Regions from separate parts of the Homo sapiens genome. Here region 1 is linked to region 2. Evidence: promoter capture Hi-C in human tissues and cell types (Jung and others, 2019). All regions are on one chromosome and are shown on one strand. The core of a region is centred on a gene start or on the middle of the fragment in contact, and the rest is flanking DNA. Distances in the headings are between cores, read along the strand shown.

Region 1 (7,525 bases), core at 712-3,211, 43 kb before region 2:
GGTAATTGTGAATGGGAGTTCATTCCTGATTTGGCTCTTGACTGGTGTTGTTATATAGGAATGCTAGTGATTTTTGCATATTAATTTTGTATTTTGAGACTTTGAGGAAGTTGTTTTTCAGCTTAATAAGCTTTCTGGCTGAGACTGTGGGGTTTTCTAAATATAGGATCATGTCATCTGCAAACAGGGATAGTTTGACTTCCTATTTAGATGCCTTTATTTCTTTCTCTTGCCTGCATAATTCAGTATATTAAAAGGGCAATGCATCATGACCAAATAAGGTTTATCCCAGAAATCTAAGATTAGTCTAACCTTTGAAAATCTGTCCATGTAATTTACCATATTAGCAAACTAAAACAAACAAAAATAAAAATACCTTAATAATCTCAGAAATCACATTTGACAAGATCTATCATCCATTCCTGATAAAAAAAAATTATCAGCAAACTGGGAATAGAAGGGGACTTCCCAACCTGATGAAGGGCATCTGTGAAAACCTTACAGTTTTCATACTTAATGGTGAAAGAATGAATGCTTCCCCCTAAGATCAGGAATAAAACAAAGATTTTCCTTCCCACCACATCTATCAGCATTGTATTGGCAGTCCTATTCTATACCATCAGGTAAAGAAAAGTAATATAATGTATACAGACTAGGAAGGAGGAAGTAAAACTGTCTTTGTTTTCATATATGATTATCTATTTAGAAAATCTAATGTAATCTATGAAAAACCTACTAAAATTATAAATTAGCAAGCTTACAGAATATATGGTCAACATAATGACATAATTATGAATACCTATGTACTCAACCCCTCCAACCCAAGAACTAGACTATTCCAAGTAACTTACATCTAGTGTGTGCTTCTCCCTTATTCGATTACCATGCTTTAAAAACATTTCAATATTTCATATATATATTATATTTCATGGATGCATAATATAGATAAAGGAATGAGAAAAAATTAGAGTGTTAGAATATATATCCACTTAGTAAGAGATAAGAATGAGGATTAAGTTTGAGAGATGCTTTATCTATATCTGTTATTCTAATATTTTTAAGGGCAGTGAATTTATAGTTCAATTGTTTTAATATTTTTAAGTACAAACTTAAAAAAAAAGACTTGAGGTAAATATTCCAAAGTGCTTATTATTGGTTGAGTTTCAGCAGCGTTAATATTAATGGATTTCTTTTCTTTTTTTACTACTTTCTGTTATTTGTTTCTATACCTTAATATGTTATTTAATTTTCTAGAAACAAAAAGTAAATTGATTTATTTGGGATTATGAATGAGAAGTTCTTGTGTACAGTGATTTGAAGGAGTAATAAGAAACCTTCCATATTATCACATGTGGAGATATTAAGATCTATTGGAAAACAAATTCACTGTACATGTGTAACACATTTCAATTGATGAGTATATATCAATTTATAACCCGTATTTCAAGTATTTTAGTTATAACTGAGAGTAAGAACTTTTTTTTTTACTTCATGCTATTGCTGTGGAAGAAATCATGTCAAAACTCAGTGGCTTAAAACAATAGTCATCATTATTCTAACCCACACATCTATGGTTTGGTGGGGGATTGACACACTAGGCTGAGCTCAGCTAATCTCAGATTGATTCATTCATTTGTTTGTAATTCAACTGGCTTATTTATGTGTCTGCAAGTCTGCCAGGGCTCTGCTCTAATGTGGGTTTGTGTGATGCACTGTAGCTGCTCCACACGTGTCTCATCCTTATCCAGAGACCAGCATACAGGCCCAGATATGACCTTCTCATGGCCATGGCAGAAATGGCAGAGGGTAAGTGGAAACGTGCAAGACCTCTTAATAATGTGTGAATAACTGTGGCATACTCTCAGTGTGGATTGGCTATGATATTTTTGATGTGCCAGGCAATGTGCTACACACTTTATATACATTATTCATTTACTTCTCTATCCAGTCTTATGAAGGACTACTATTATCGCAATTATACAGGGAAGGAAACAGGATTACATGGACACTTGTCCAAGGTTATTGAGTTATTAAGCTGGAAAACCTGAAATCTGAACTTGAGCCTTAGATTTTAGCCAAGGAACAAAGGTACCTAGACAAGCACTTAAAATTGCCATGGCTAGTATTTTTGTCATGCATACTATTTTTGTCATGAATAATATTAAAATACATTGTAAAATAGTACTTTGGTATATCATATGATTTGCTAAGCTTAATATTCTCTATATCAACATTTGTCCAGCAAGATTTCGAGAGCAATACTTTGTATGATGGGTGAAGAAGAAATGCAGTTTGCCTAATTTGCAGATGTGGAGACGTCATTACTTTTTTTCTTTTAACAAACAAAGCACCATTTAATTTTTCTTTCAAAGTGCTTTAAATATGTTGAAGTCAATTATTTATGTGTTAGATTCTGATATTTGTATATCTGATTTAATTTTTAGAACAGTTCAGTAATTTGATAACCAATGATTCAGACCATTGTATCTGTACACATCCATTAAGCACTCCTTTCTCAAACTTTATTGACTTTTTCATTACAACCTTTGAAAGTTACTGGAACATAGCAGAAACTCAAGCTTCATCTATGTGGACTCTTATGTTGTTCCAGAGGTTTCATATAAGTATCAAGACATGGTAGGGGCATTTAGTTTTCACTATTATGTTTCTAAACTCTCATCAAATGAGCTAGTCATCATCTGATTTGGTCCTTGTCCAACTGCCTACACATGCACTTGCAGAAGTGCTCCTTTTTGCCCAATTGCTTTAATCTCTCTATTACCCTGTCATCCTTAGGTACACAGGAAATGCTAAGACAGTGTCTAAGGCATCTGCTTTAGCCATCCTTCCATCTATTTAATTATTTGGGACCATACCACCTTTCCAACCACTACACAGGCTATAGGAAAAATATATTTTTGTTTTTGGATTTCCAAAACCAAAACTAGGGATTTTGCCAGTTCTCCAAGACACAGCCCAGGGAGCATTGACTAGCAACATCTCCCTGGGAACCTCTGAAGTCTAAGCTCTCACCACTTCTCCAACTCTCCTGACTTTTCGAACTCAACCCTTCCATTTTCTTGTTTGAGTCTCTCTGTTCTTCTAAAGTGCTAGGCTTTTGAAATCTTGAAGCTAAGAAGTAAGGTCTCCACTTCTCTCCTGTCTATCACTTTTCTGAGTCAATCAGCACTGAATGCCTTAGCTGCTGCTAGAATGCTTAAAGGTTGTAGGAGAAGGGAAAATCTAAGACTGCATAAGAGGGGAATACTAGGGATTGTAAAAAAGTAATTTGTTTTCTAAATATCAGGCCTCATTTCTTTGTATTATCTAGACTATCTGGCTTTCAGGAGGTACATCTTTAAAAGAAAGAAATTGGACTAATTGGTTTTTCAAGTTGAGCTCTGGGGAACCTAAAGGGATTTGGCTGGTAGCAGAGCTCCCCTCTACCTCTTTTCAACTAATATACCTCTCCTTGCTTTGATCCTTTTACACACTGAGCTTGGTAAACAATTTTCCTTTAAATAAATGTTTCTAAAATGTTTGAAACCCATTCCATTCGACTTTAATACTCTGTGAATAACATGACAGTTGGTAATATAGACCCTTGCCTATTGTCCCTACTGGCCTGCAGTCTCTCCTCATTCCCCAAGTGCATTGGTGTCTGTTTGCAGGAAATACATTTCTTTTTTCTATTCTATTCTTTTCTTTTCTTTTCTTTTCTTTCTTTCTCTTTCTCTCTTTCTTTCTTCCTTTCTTTCTCCTTTCTTTCTTCCTTTCTCTTTTTTCTTTCTTTCTTTCTTTCTTTTCTTTCTTTCTTTTCTTTCTTTCTTCTTTCTTTGACAGCATATCACTTTGTTGCCTAGGCTGGTGGCGCCATCGTGGCTCACTGTAGCCTCAATCCACCGCCCACCCCTGCCCACCCGGGCTTAAGCAATCTTCCCACCTCACCCTCCCAAGTAGCTGGGACCACAGCCATGCACCACCATGTCCAGCTTTGTTTGTTTGCTTGTTTGTTTGTTGCTGTTTGTAGTGACAAGGTTTCCCTATGTTGCCCAGGCTGGTTTTGAACTCCTGGGCTCTGGCGATCCTCCCACCTTGGCCTCTTAAAGTTCTGGGATTACAGGTGCCCTCAGAGAATAAGGTTTGATTGATGGGAGGAAGAAAAGAGAAGCACACATTTGGACCCCACAGGTCCATTGACTTTGCAGAAATATGGTCCAAGGCAGAAGGTGATGGAACTACTTGAATGATCCTATGAATTTCTGAATATAAGAGGATTCCAAAGCCCTAGACGATCCAATATGGCACAGAGCAGAGCCCTACTGGCCCTGAGCTCTGTAAGGAACCTAGCACCATCCTGGTACCACAAGGAATAGAAGCTTTGGGGGCATTCAGATATTGTCCTTGGCATGAATATTATTCTCATGACAGGCATGATAGGCATATCTGTTCAGATAGGAACCAAAGAAGCCAGAGAAAAGAAAAAGAACAGGAAATGTTCTGTGGTCACTGCCACTGACTCACTGGGTTGTAAACACTTTTTGAGGATTTCTAGAAATAACAGGAGGATACCTGGGAGAAGACACTGAGGTTTTTGTATTACTAATGTAGGCTCTATTTATCTAGGATGCATTTAGCCATTATATTACTGTCTGCAAAGCAAATAATGCTGAAGAAAGTTTTTCTAATCTAGAAAGAAGCATACATTCACACAAATTCCACTCTAATTATTATCTTTATTTATGTAGTAGGACAATTTCCAGCTGAAGAAGTGATCCACCTGAGTAAGCATTTCCATGGTGTTCCTTTTATATCTGAGTTAGAGTTCTGGTTTTGTTCCCAGCCTTACCTCTGACTCATCATTGTGAAACCAAGAAATCATTTAGCCTCTCAGCACCTCAAAATCTTTCTTCTGTGAATGAGGATAATGGGTAAACCTTTTCTTGCTTCACTGAATTGTTGTGAAGTTTAATTAGATAATGTTTACACAGTCCTTTGAACTCTACTAATTAAAGTGATGTGTAAATATGGCGCTTCCTTTTATCAGGATGGCTTGACTGAGCCATTTCATGAAGAGTTACAGATGACTATGATAGGAGTATCCATAGGGAAGTGATTAATTTTTTTTAATTCATGTAAACTCAATTCTGAGATTATCAAATACACATATGAAAATATCCAGTTGCGGCTGTAATTAGGGAGAATAAGGATATAGCCTCCCACTAGCTGAAGAGCTAATGGTCACACCTTCACATTAGGGAAAGCTTAGCTCCTAGGGTGTAGACTAGTGCTCTGTTTGCTTTAGGTATTGCTATCATTTTTTTCTATGTTACCTTTATTCGGTATTTTTTTGCCTAGGCAACATTGGTGATTTATTTTATATTTGTCATATAATGAATCACAAAATAGCATATTTACAATCCCTTGATGAGAAAGACATAAGCTTTAAAGTAGTGTGAATCTATATAGATGATCCATTGGTTCATTTACTTATCAAAGAGATTTTCACCTGAAACAGAAAAATCTTAGATAAATCAGAAATCTTCTTACTAAGTTTCCCAAGGAGACTGTTTTACTCTAATATTATCATCTCAATTACTTTTGAAATTCTGCATTAGTAAGAAACCCTTTCTTTTGCCAGAAATAAGTTGATAAAAGGATTAATTAGCTTGGGGGGAAAAAACACAAGTTTTTCTCCATAAGCCTTCTTTGTGCGTTAGTGTATAATTATCTTTGTTAGACAGAATTTTCTAAATGATAATATTATAGGTATGTAACAATTCAATTTCATATGCTACTGAATGACTCAGAATTTGGAGTTAATATAGTTTATTGAAAACTCAGATAACTAATATGGGAGTTTTGAAAACTGCTAAATATCATAATGGGAGTTTACAGCAGGAAATGTTTCTATAAAATCTAGTAGCTTGTTTTTTATACTTGTAATGCATAACAAATACATTATATATAATAATAAATAATGTATAAATAATGTATGAATAAATTATGTCTACTTTCATTACCTATGTACTTCAGGGATATGTCTGCTGATGGACCAGCATAACATAAAAGCACTTTGAACTGTTTGAAACTTCAAATTCAGAGTCTGATTTTCTATCTTCTGAAATATATTTTCTGCCTCAAATCCTCACCAGTATGATATGAGTAGAATTACACAGAAATTTGAAATTATTTAGGTCCAGGCGGAAGACTTGTCAAAAGTGTGATAGTGCCTTAGTAAACTCTAAGGCATAATAGCAGAGGTGTATTATTTGATATTTCCAGAAGAAGGCAGATAAGTATAGATTATTTTGATCCAAGGAGACACTAAAGAAAACAAAATACAGATCTAAAACTGTAAAACATGTAGCCTTAGGATGCACAAAGATAAAATAGAATTCAAATTTGCTACCATGGAGAATAAATATTCTATTTACGGACCTAAGGTCCTGAATGAATCTGTATCCCTACACAATGGGGTTTTTAGGTATTCTTTTTTTAAATAGAAAGATAAAGGTTAGTTTTAGTCATTAGCTAGTGGTTTTCTTTTTGTCCAAAATTCATTTTATTTTTTTCTTTTTATTATTATTATTATTATACTTTAACTTCTAGAGTACATGTGCACAACATGCAGGTTTGTTACGTATGTATACATGTGCCATGTGGGTGTGCTGCACCCATTAACTCGTCATTTAACATTAGGTATATCTCATAATGTTTTCCCTCCCCCCTTCCCTCACCCCACAACAGGCCCCGGTGTGCGATGTTCCCCTTCCTGTGTCCAAGTGTTCTCATTGTTCAATTCCCACCTATGAGTGAGAACATGCAGTGTTTGGTTTTTTGTTCTTGCAACAGTTTGCTGAGAATGATGGTTTCCAGCTTCATCCATGTCCCTACAAAGGACATGAACTCATCATTTTTTATGGCTACATAGTATTCCATGGTGTATATGTGCCACATTTTCTTAATCCAGTCTATCATTAATGGACATTTGGGTTGGTTCCAAGTCTTTGCTATTGTGAGTAGTGCCGCAATAAACATACATCTGCATGTGTCTTTATAGCAGCATGATTTATAATCCTTTGGGTATATACCCAGTAATGGGACGGCTGAGTCAAATGGTATTTCTAGTTCTAGATACCTGAGGAATAGCCACACTGTCTTCCACAGTGGTTGAACTAGTTTACAGTCCCACCAACAGTGTCAAAGTGTTCCTATTTCTCCACATCCTCTCCAGCACCTGTTGTTTCCTGACTTTTTAATGATTGCCATTCTAACTGGTGTGAGATGGTATCTCATTGTGGTTTTGATTTGCATTTCTCTGATGGCCAGTGAGGATGAGCATTTTTTCATGTGTCTGTTGGCTGCATAAATGTCTTCTTTTGAGAAGTGTCTGTTCATATCCTTCGCCCACTTGTTGATGGGGTTGTTTGTTTTTTTCTTGTAAATTTGTCTGAGTTATTTGTAGATTCTGAATATTAGCCCTTTGTCAGATGAGTAGACTGCAAAAATATTCTCCCATTCT
Region 2 (7,405 bases), core at 4,906-7,405:
AAAATAAAATCTTGATCTCAACTATCCCCCAAATGCATCCTATAAGTCCATCCTAATGAGAAATGATGTTCTATTTAAGGAAAGGAAAATATTCCGGGAAGGCAAAAAATGCAGTGCTGTTTGGAAGTGTAATGATTTTATCACATGGTGAATGACTACTAAGAGTAATGATTATATCACATTGTGAATGACTACTTGCCACAGTAAAAATACATGAAGAATGTGTTAGGTTTAAACGTCGTTTCTTTCTTCTAAAAAATATTTGGTTAGTACCTTCACTGAGCAATAGTGGAAAAATAAAAAAATAAGTAAACAGAAAAAACTAAAGTTGTATTTTCCCACAAATATAGTATGAATGAGGTCATATTAAAGAACAGCAACTGTTAATGTTTGTTCACAAATTCAGAAATCTAATAGGAAAACATGATACTTTCAATGTGCCAAAACTAAACCTTAGTATACAACTAAAAATCTCCTGCCTTCTTGCCTACCTGTCTTCCCTCTTCTGTTACAGAATTTGTTCCTCAAAGTAGATGCAATGTTTCTAACACAATTTAAATTAGGAAATATATATGAATGTCGTTGAAGTCTATTTTGAGACTGCTAAAGCTATTAATTGATACTGTGTTTTTATGCCCAAATCCCAGTATGTTTATGTACCAATAATGACTCTTACCCAGCGCATGTCTTTATCAGTGTGTACTCGTGACGATTTGTGTGAAAATAGACTTGATGTTTATAATTAATACCATTACAACTGTATAATAAAAGCAATTTGAAGAAAAGCTGTATTCTTTTTTTCTGTAGATATAAATTTCTTACCCATTTCCTTACTACATCCTGGAGAAATGTACAAGTTTCTAAAATGTGAAAGAAAAGTTTATATAGCATATTCCACAGTCAGTTCAGATCAATTGTTGTCTGATAACCCTGATGGAAGTTTAAATTTAAAGTTTCCAAGCAAACATTCAGAAAGGGCCTCTTTAATTTTTAAGGGTTCCTAACTCCCAAAACAAATAAAGTGACTAAAATACATGTATGTGGAAAATGTGAAGACTGTAATTTTGAGCTCTACCTCAACAGAGGTGCAGGAAGGGTACCTTTGGAATAACATTCAGAATTTAGACTTCCCATAAACTAATTAAAATGCTGTAGAAGAAAAATTACTCTGACACTTGTTTAAAACAGTCAAGAAGATGTTAAGACTATTGCAGTGGATGAAGGAGATTGAACTAACTATGAATACAACATAGACAGCTAGAGATTTATAGCCAATGAGCAGAGCTAGGGGGTTGGTGGATGAAAAATTACTAAGAGGACCTTTAGATATTCAGGGTAGGGGGATTCTTGTTAAACTGGCTTGTCAGGATGCTTGATAACAGCAGGCCAAAGACTTAGATATCAAAGGAAGAGGATTAGAAACTAGATAAAATAGCAATGGTGAGGGACCCTCCATAAACTGACTTAACAGGATTCTTTGCTAAAACTGGGCTCGATGGGTCTAGATCAAGACCTGATCAGGGAGAGAGCTCAGAGGAGCCTGACTAAGATTCGGTGAAAGAGTCAACATATTACAGAGGTAAAGTCAATGTATTGGAACCATAACTTTACAAGTATTTGAAGTCCTTAAAAGATAGACATGTTGGCCTTGTGGAGGAGCATAGAGATGGTTTTCTTCTCCTACCATATCTGTATCTGTAAAGTATCTGTAAAGAGCGCCCTAAAGAACATAATAAAGTTACAGAAATGATTATGAGCTTACCATATATGTATGAAAGCAAGAGTTGCAATTAGACAAAAATGAAAGGTTTGTTTTGGAAAGTGGTACAGCTGGATAAGTATGCAAAAATAAATTAGAGGAGTGGATAAATCAGAATTTGGCAGTATTTAGCAAGTTACGAGAATTGTAGTTAGAGGTCAGAAGATGTTATCATTGACTAACATGAGGAAATTGTAAAAGGGAGCTGACTTTGGAGTAGAGATAATATGTTCAGATTAAAATATGTTAAGTTTGAGGTGATGACATAATACATAGATAAGAATTCTGAAGTAATATCAGTCTAGGAAGAGGATAAGAATTCATAGTTACTGATAAGAATTTAGGACTCGTCAGCATATACGGACACACTAAATTCCTGGCCTTGGTAACCATTATACACACTCTGTGTCTTTCCACACTTGTTCAATAGTAACAACTATCCTTAACTGAGCACGTAGCATGTGCTAAATACTTTCCTCTTTTGTTCTTTTCTTTCTTTCTTTTTTTGAGACAGGGTCTCACTCTGTTTCCCAGGCTGGAGTACAGTGGTGTGGTCACTGCTCACTGCAGCCTCTACCTCCAAGGCTCAAGCAATCCTCCCACCTCAGCCTCTGGAGTAGCTGGGACCGCAGGCGAGTGCCACCATGCCCAGCTAAGTTTTTCATTTTTTGTAGAGAAGGGTCTCACTATATTGCTTAAACTGGTCTCAAACTCCTGGGATCAAGCAATTCTTCTGACTTGGCCTCCCAAAGTGCCTTTTTTTTTTGTCTTTGCTCATTATTGACAATCTCCACTTGATAGATGAGAAAATTATTGACCCTCCTGGTTATTAAAAAGCCTCAGCCAAGGCCAAATAGATAGAAAAGGTGGAATCTGAATTCACAACAAAGTCTGTTGGGATGATGTGAGTCAGAAGCCACTCCTTTTACTACTCCACTCTGCCTTCCCTCAGATCCTGCCCTCACCCCGAAGTCCTTTCTCTTATTACTAGGTGTCTAAATCCTACTTGCTATTTAAGATTCACTTCAAATGAAACTTGTCCATGAAAAATGTCAGCCCTTAGCTCTCAGAGCTTTTATGCACACATTCATGGCAGTTGTCACTCCCTACCCAGTACTGCAGTTATGTATGTACTTTGCCTAGAACCCTTTAGTTCCTTGAAGTCAGAATCCATGCATGATTTCTCTATTTGTCTTACAAATATCATCTCACCCAGCCTAGTGCCATGGATATAGTAGTCATTCAATATTTTATGAATGAATGCAACTGAATCCATGAAAGTGATAGAATAAACTTAGAGAGAGAATCAATGAACTGATCACCATTCTCTGCCAATGACCAGTAATAAATTTTGGTTAAGTTAGTGAAACAGCCAGGAAAAAAAGATAGAAAGGGGAGGGAAGAATAAACTTTCAGAGATTCTCTCTTCTAGCATAAACTTCTAGAAGAAGAGAGATAAGTAAATTGAAAAGACTGGAAACATGGCATGAGAGAAAAGTAGTAGTGGAGCTCTTAGCCTCTCATTTCCTTCTCCTTTCTCACCCTAACCTGCTTTAATGCATATTAAGAATGAATAAAGATATCAGAAAAACCACCTTACAGTATCCATCTGCCCCCCATTCTTTAGGATTTGGAGAAAGGACTTTTGGGTGAGAGGATTGAAGATGTGAAGGGAGTGGACTTTCCTGTAAAGATTGTTAAGTGGGAGCCATGAGTATGGGCCCCAGAGGAAAGGCAACATGTTTGATGACTTAAAGTTACTTTCTGGTATACTCCATAAGCTAAAGCAGAAGATGGGTTTCTATATTAAGTGGCCCAGTTTACCAGAGAGGCTTCAGTTCCATCTCTCAGCACAGATGTGAGTGAAAATCACAGTTAATTAAATATTTAGTTTTTTTTCTAATAAAGGTAATTTATTTAAAGCTTGATTTTAGGAGATAATTGAGGGAATTCTTTTGAGATCAGTACAACAACTACTACAAGAGAACACAGCTAGGTAAATGGAAAGAGCATACGATTTAGAATCTGTAAATATAGAATTGAAGTCCTTTTTTTTGTTCGTTTTGTTTTGTTTTGTTTGTTTGAGACAGGGTCTGTAGCCCAGGCTGGGGTGCAATGGTGTAATCATGGCTCATTGCAGCCTTGACCTCCCAGGCTCAAGTGATCCTCCTACCTCTGCCTCTCAAGTAACTCATGCCCAGCTAATTTATTTTTTGTAGAGTCGGGGTCTTGCTCTGTTGCCCAGGCTGGTCTCAAACTCCTGGGTTCAAGCAATCCTCCTCCCTCAGCCTCTGAAAGTGCTGAGATTACAGGTATGAGCCACTGCACCTGGCCAGGATTGAAGTGCTGACTCTAGGCATGTCCTTTGGCAAGTCACTTAATTCTTTTGGGCCTCAATTTGTCATTTGTCATGTGAGAATAGAAATAATGCCTATTTATTTCCTTATTCTCTGAAGACAGATTCATTGAGTATTTACTAGATGTTAGGCACTGGATTTGTTTGGGCCAGGGTTACTGAAGAAAGAATTGAGATGTGTAGGGAAACCTGTAAAGTGCAAAGGACTGCACTAGCTACAGTTAAGAGTTTTTACAAAGATAATCTTTGTACTTTGATGTCTCAGTCTTAGAAATAAACTATTTAATCCCAGCACTTTGGGAGGCCAAGGTGGGTGGATCATGAGGTCAGGAGATCGAGACCATCCTGGCTAACACAGTGAAACCCCGTCTCTACTAAAAATACAAAAACTTAGCAGCGCCTAGTGGCAGGCACCTGCAGTCCCAGCTACTCGGGAGGCTGAGGCAGGAGAATGGCATGAACTCAGGAGGAGGAGCTTGCAGTGAGCTGAGATCGCACCACTGCACTCCAGCCTGAGTGACAGAGTGAGAAAACATCTCAAAAAAAAAAAAAAAGAAAGTATTTAATATGAGTCCTAACATCTCCCTCCAGAAACTACAAAAAGAATTGTGATGGTTTATTTAATCTTTTGTAAATGATTTCTTTTTAAATTCTCAGCAATGGTGCAAAGACGATTGTTCAATTTATAATTCAAATGTTATTTGCCTGGGAAATATATTATCTAGAAATCGACTTAGTAATCAACAGTTTTTTAAAAACCTACAAAAGTAGAAATGCAAAATGTAGACACATTTAAAGCGAGCCAAGTACTATTATATTATTTTAACTTTAAAATGATGACTCCTGTGGCAAGTGATTGCCCAAGTTATAATGAGTTCAACAAGCTTGTTCTTGTGTGATTTCTAACACCACATTTATATTTGAATAGTGAAAGGGCTCCTTTCTGGTAAATCTAATTTGCTGAGTGGACATGATGCAAAAGATAACCTATCTTGACTTGAATATGTTTTTAGGGTTTTGAGGTTTCAAGTTTCAAGAAAATACAAGGAATTGAAATTCCAGACAGAAAGACTCAATGCCTCAGGAAGATATATTTATAAATCATTTATATTAATTTGGGGCAAGTGAAAATTTCTGTAGTTGTAAAATATAGTAGCTGTAATGACATATTTTGGCCTTTAAAGTGCCACTTTAATAATTACAACTAGATGAACTTGAGAAATAATTTGAATGTTGTATTAACTTAGAAACTTTCTATTCATTGGATGTATCCAAACTAAATGTCATCTTAATTTTCTCTTAATGGAGAATTTTAATATTATTATTATTGCTATTATCATTATGTTGGTACTTTACTGGTTCTCTGTAGCTTAATCATTGGGATGCAGATTTAAGCATTGTTGTTCCTGGAATATGGCAGCCCATTTCATTTACTCAGAAAAATGTTAAATAGCAGGATGACAGAAAGGTGAATATTATACTATTAAAAATAATTTTATTTACAGCACTTGTCATAGTAACACTAAGAAACAAACACTAAAATGGAATATGAAACCTCTGTGTTTTCACAAATTTAACTGTTCTCTGCAACTAAATTAACAAATTATCTTGATTTGAAATGGAACTTATAGTCTGTAATAAAAGGTGGTATAACCAACTATAGTTTCAGGTATATTTCTTTTAGAAACAGGTTATGCTGCTTCCTAATTTGCAGTTATGTTTGTTGAACTCCCGTATAGGTTTCTAGCATAGTTTGAGCTGGTATAGTTCTCTTCACACCAATGGGAGCCTTTCCTGAAATTACATTTTGTTCTTGTTGTTTTAAGTACTTTTACATACATGATTATGCCCACAGGTAACAGGAAACCAGTGTTTCAAAAGAAAACTTGATCACATTGCTAGATAATACAGGTATCCTAACCAAGTGCGTGAGCGCCCAGAGGCTTTCTGCTGCTGCCAGAAGTACATATTTTTTTGATTGGTAAGAACTGCCAGATGACGCTTCATGAAATATAAATGCAACAAAGACTCAGAGAGCTCAATAAAAACCTTCCACCCGTCAGTCTAGAAGGATAAGAGAAAGAAAGTTAAGCAACTACAGGAAATGGCTTTGGGAGTTCCAATATCAGTCTATCTTTTATTCAACGGTAGGTAATTTCCTTTTGTTTTGTTAACTTTATATCAGTGTAAAATGTGAATAGAATTTATTTTCTCTGCATTAGAGAGAAGTTGGCTTCTAACAGTTGTTCTTTATGACAAAGATCAGAGTAATGAATCTGTGGATTAATTTAGTTTCTTATGTCCTGTATGTTCCTTTCCTAATATATTTTGACACCTTTTTTGAGACCTCCAGAATGTTTGCTTTATACAATTGAAGAGTAATTGATACATTTAGCTACTATACTATAGGGTTCTTATTTTTTAATTAATATGTAAATGTATCAATGGTCTTAAATATTGGGTTTTTATTTGCTTTAATCCTAATATAGTCAATGGAATGGATGAGAAACTGTAAGTATGTTGCCCTAGTCACGTTATGGATTTCAACTGTAATAAATTAAAAAAATAGAAATTGGAATAAACAGAATAAGAATACTTTCCATCTGTTGCTTGTACATAGAAGGAGGCTCTCTGTTAAAGATGCTTTTGCCCCCTTAATACAGCAATGACAGCACTGACCGAAGAGGCAGCCGTGACTGTAACACCTCCAATCACAGCCCAGCAAGGTAACTGGACAGTTAACAAAACAGAAGGTATTTTCTTCCCATTTTCATATTTCACAAGACTTTTCTAAAACTTGGGAGAGAAATTTGGATTGTGATAAAAGCAATATTGGCCATTTTTAATATATATTTTATTATTAGATAATCAGCTCTTTTAGCAGGATGCTGTTAAATTGAAGTGACAGATAAATGTGCCAGGAAATAATTGCCTTTTTAAAAGGAGGAAGTTAAGCAAATGAGACAAAAGCTGTCTTCAGTTACTGTCTTGAATGTGAAACAGGCCACATTTTCTGCTTCATTTCTGCTTGGTTCCCAATAACCCCTGTGTGTACAGAGACAGTTTGTCCCCATTTTGGCATTCTTGATGAGCAGCATTATATTTTGATCTGTGATTATAAGCTTTGATGCCAAAGACATTATGGCTACAAGATGAACAGCACTTTCCCTCATCTTTGGAATGACCTTTTTTTCTTGTTTGCTTTGGAGTTTTTGTTGTTATTTTAGCATATGCTGTATTTCCTAACCACTTGTACCCAATTTTTGTTGTTGATGGTAATGATATATTTT

The links. Contacts are between HindIII fragments. The study calls those that stand out against the background at their distance.
Region 1: a fragment that was not itself captured here is called in contact with the fragment with the promoter of EPGN in region 2 in 1 of the 25 tissues and cell types used here (mesenchymal stem cells).

What each region holds. Positions count from the first base shown.
Region 1 is chr4:74,263,590-74,271,114 of GRCh38, forward strand. All of the region lies in intron 6 of MTHFD2L (methylenetetrahydrofolate dehydrogenase (NADP+ dependent) 2 like), which reads left to right. Among named protein-coding and RNA genes, the nearest start is that of EPGN, 41 kb to the right of the region's middle. The HindIII fragment of the contact is 3,036 bases long and covers 444-3,479 here.
Region 2 is chr4:74,302,315-74,309,719 of GRCh38, forward strand. EPGN (epithelial mitogen) reads left to right here and starts at 6,156. Exons shown (of 5, transcript NM_001270989.2): 1 at 6,156-6,262; 2 at 6,779-6,868. The coding sequence starts at 6,220. All of the region lies in intron 2 of LOC105377276 (a long non-coding RNA gene), which reads right to left. It overlaps MTHFD2L (methylenetetrahydrofolate dehydrogenase (NADP+ dependent) 2 like), which reads left to right. Exons shown (of 8, transcript NM_001144978.3): 8 at 1-785. The HindIII fragment of the contact is 5,515 bases long and covers 4,341-7,405 here.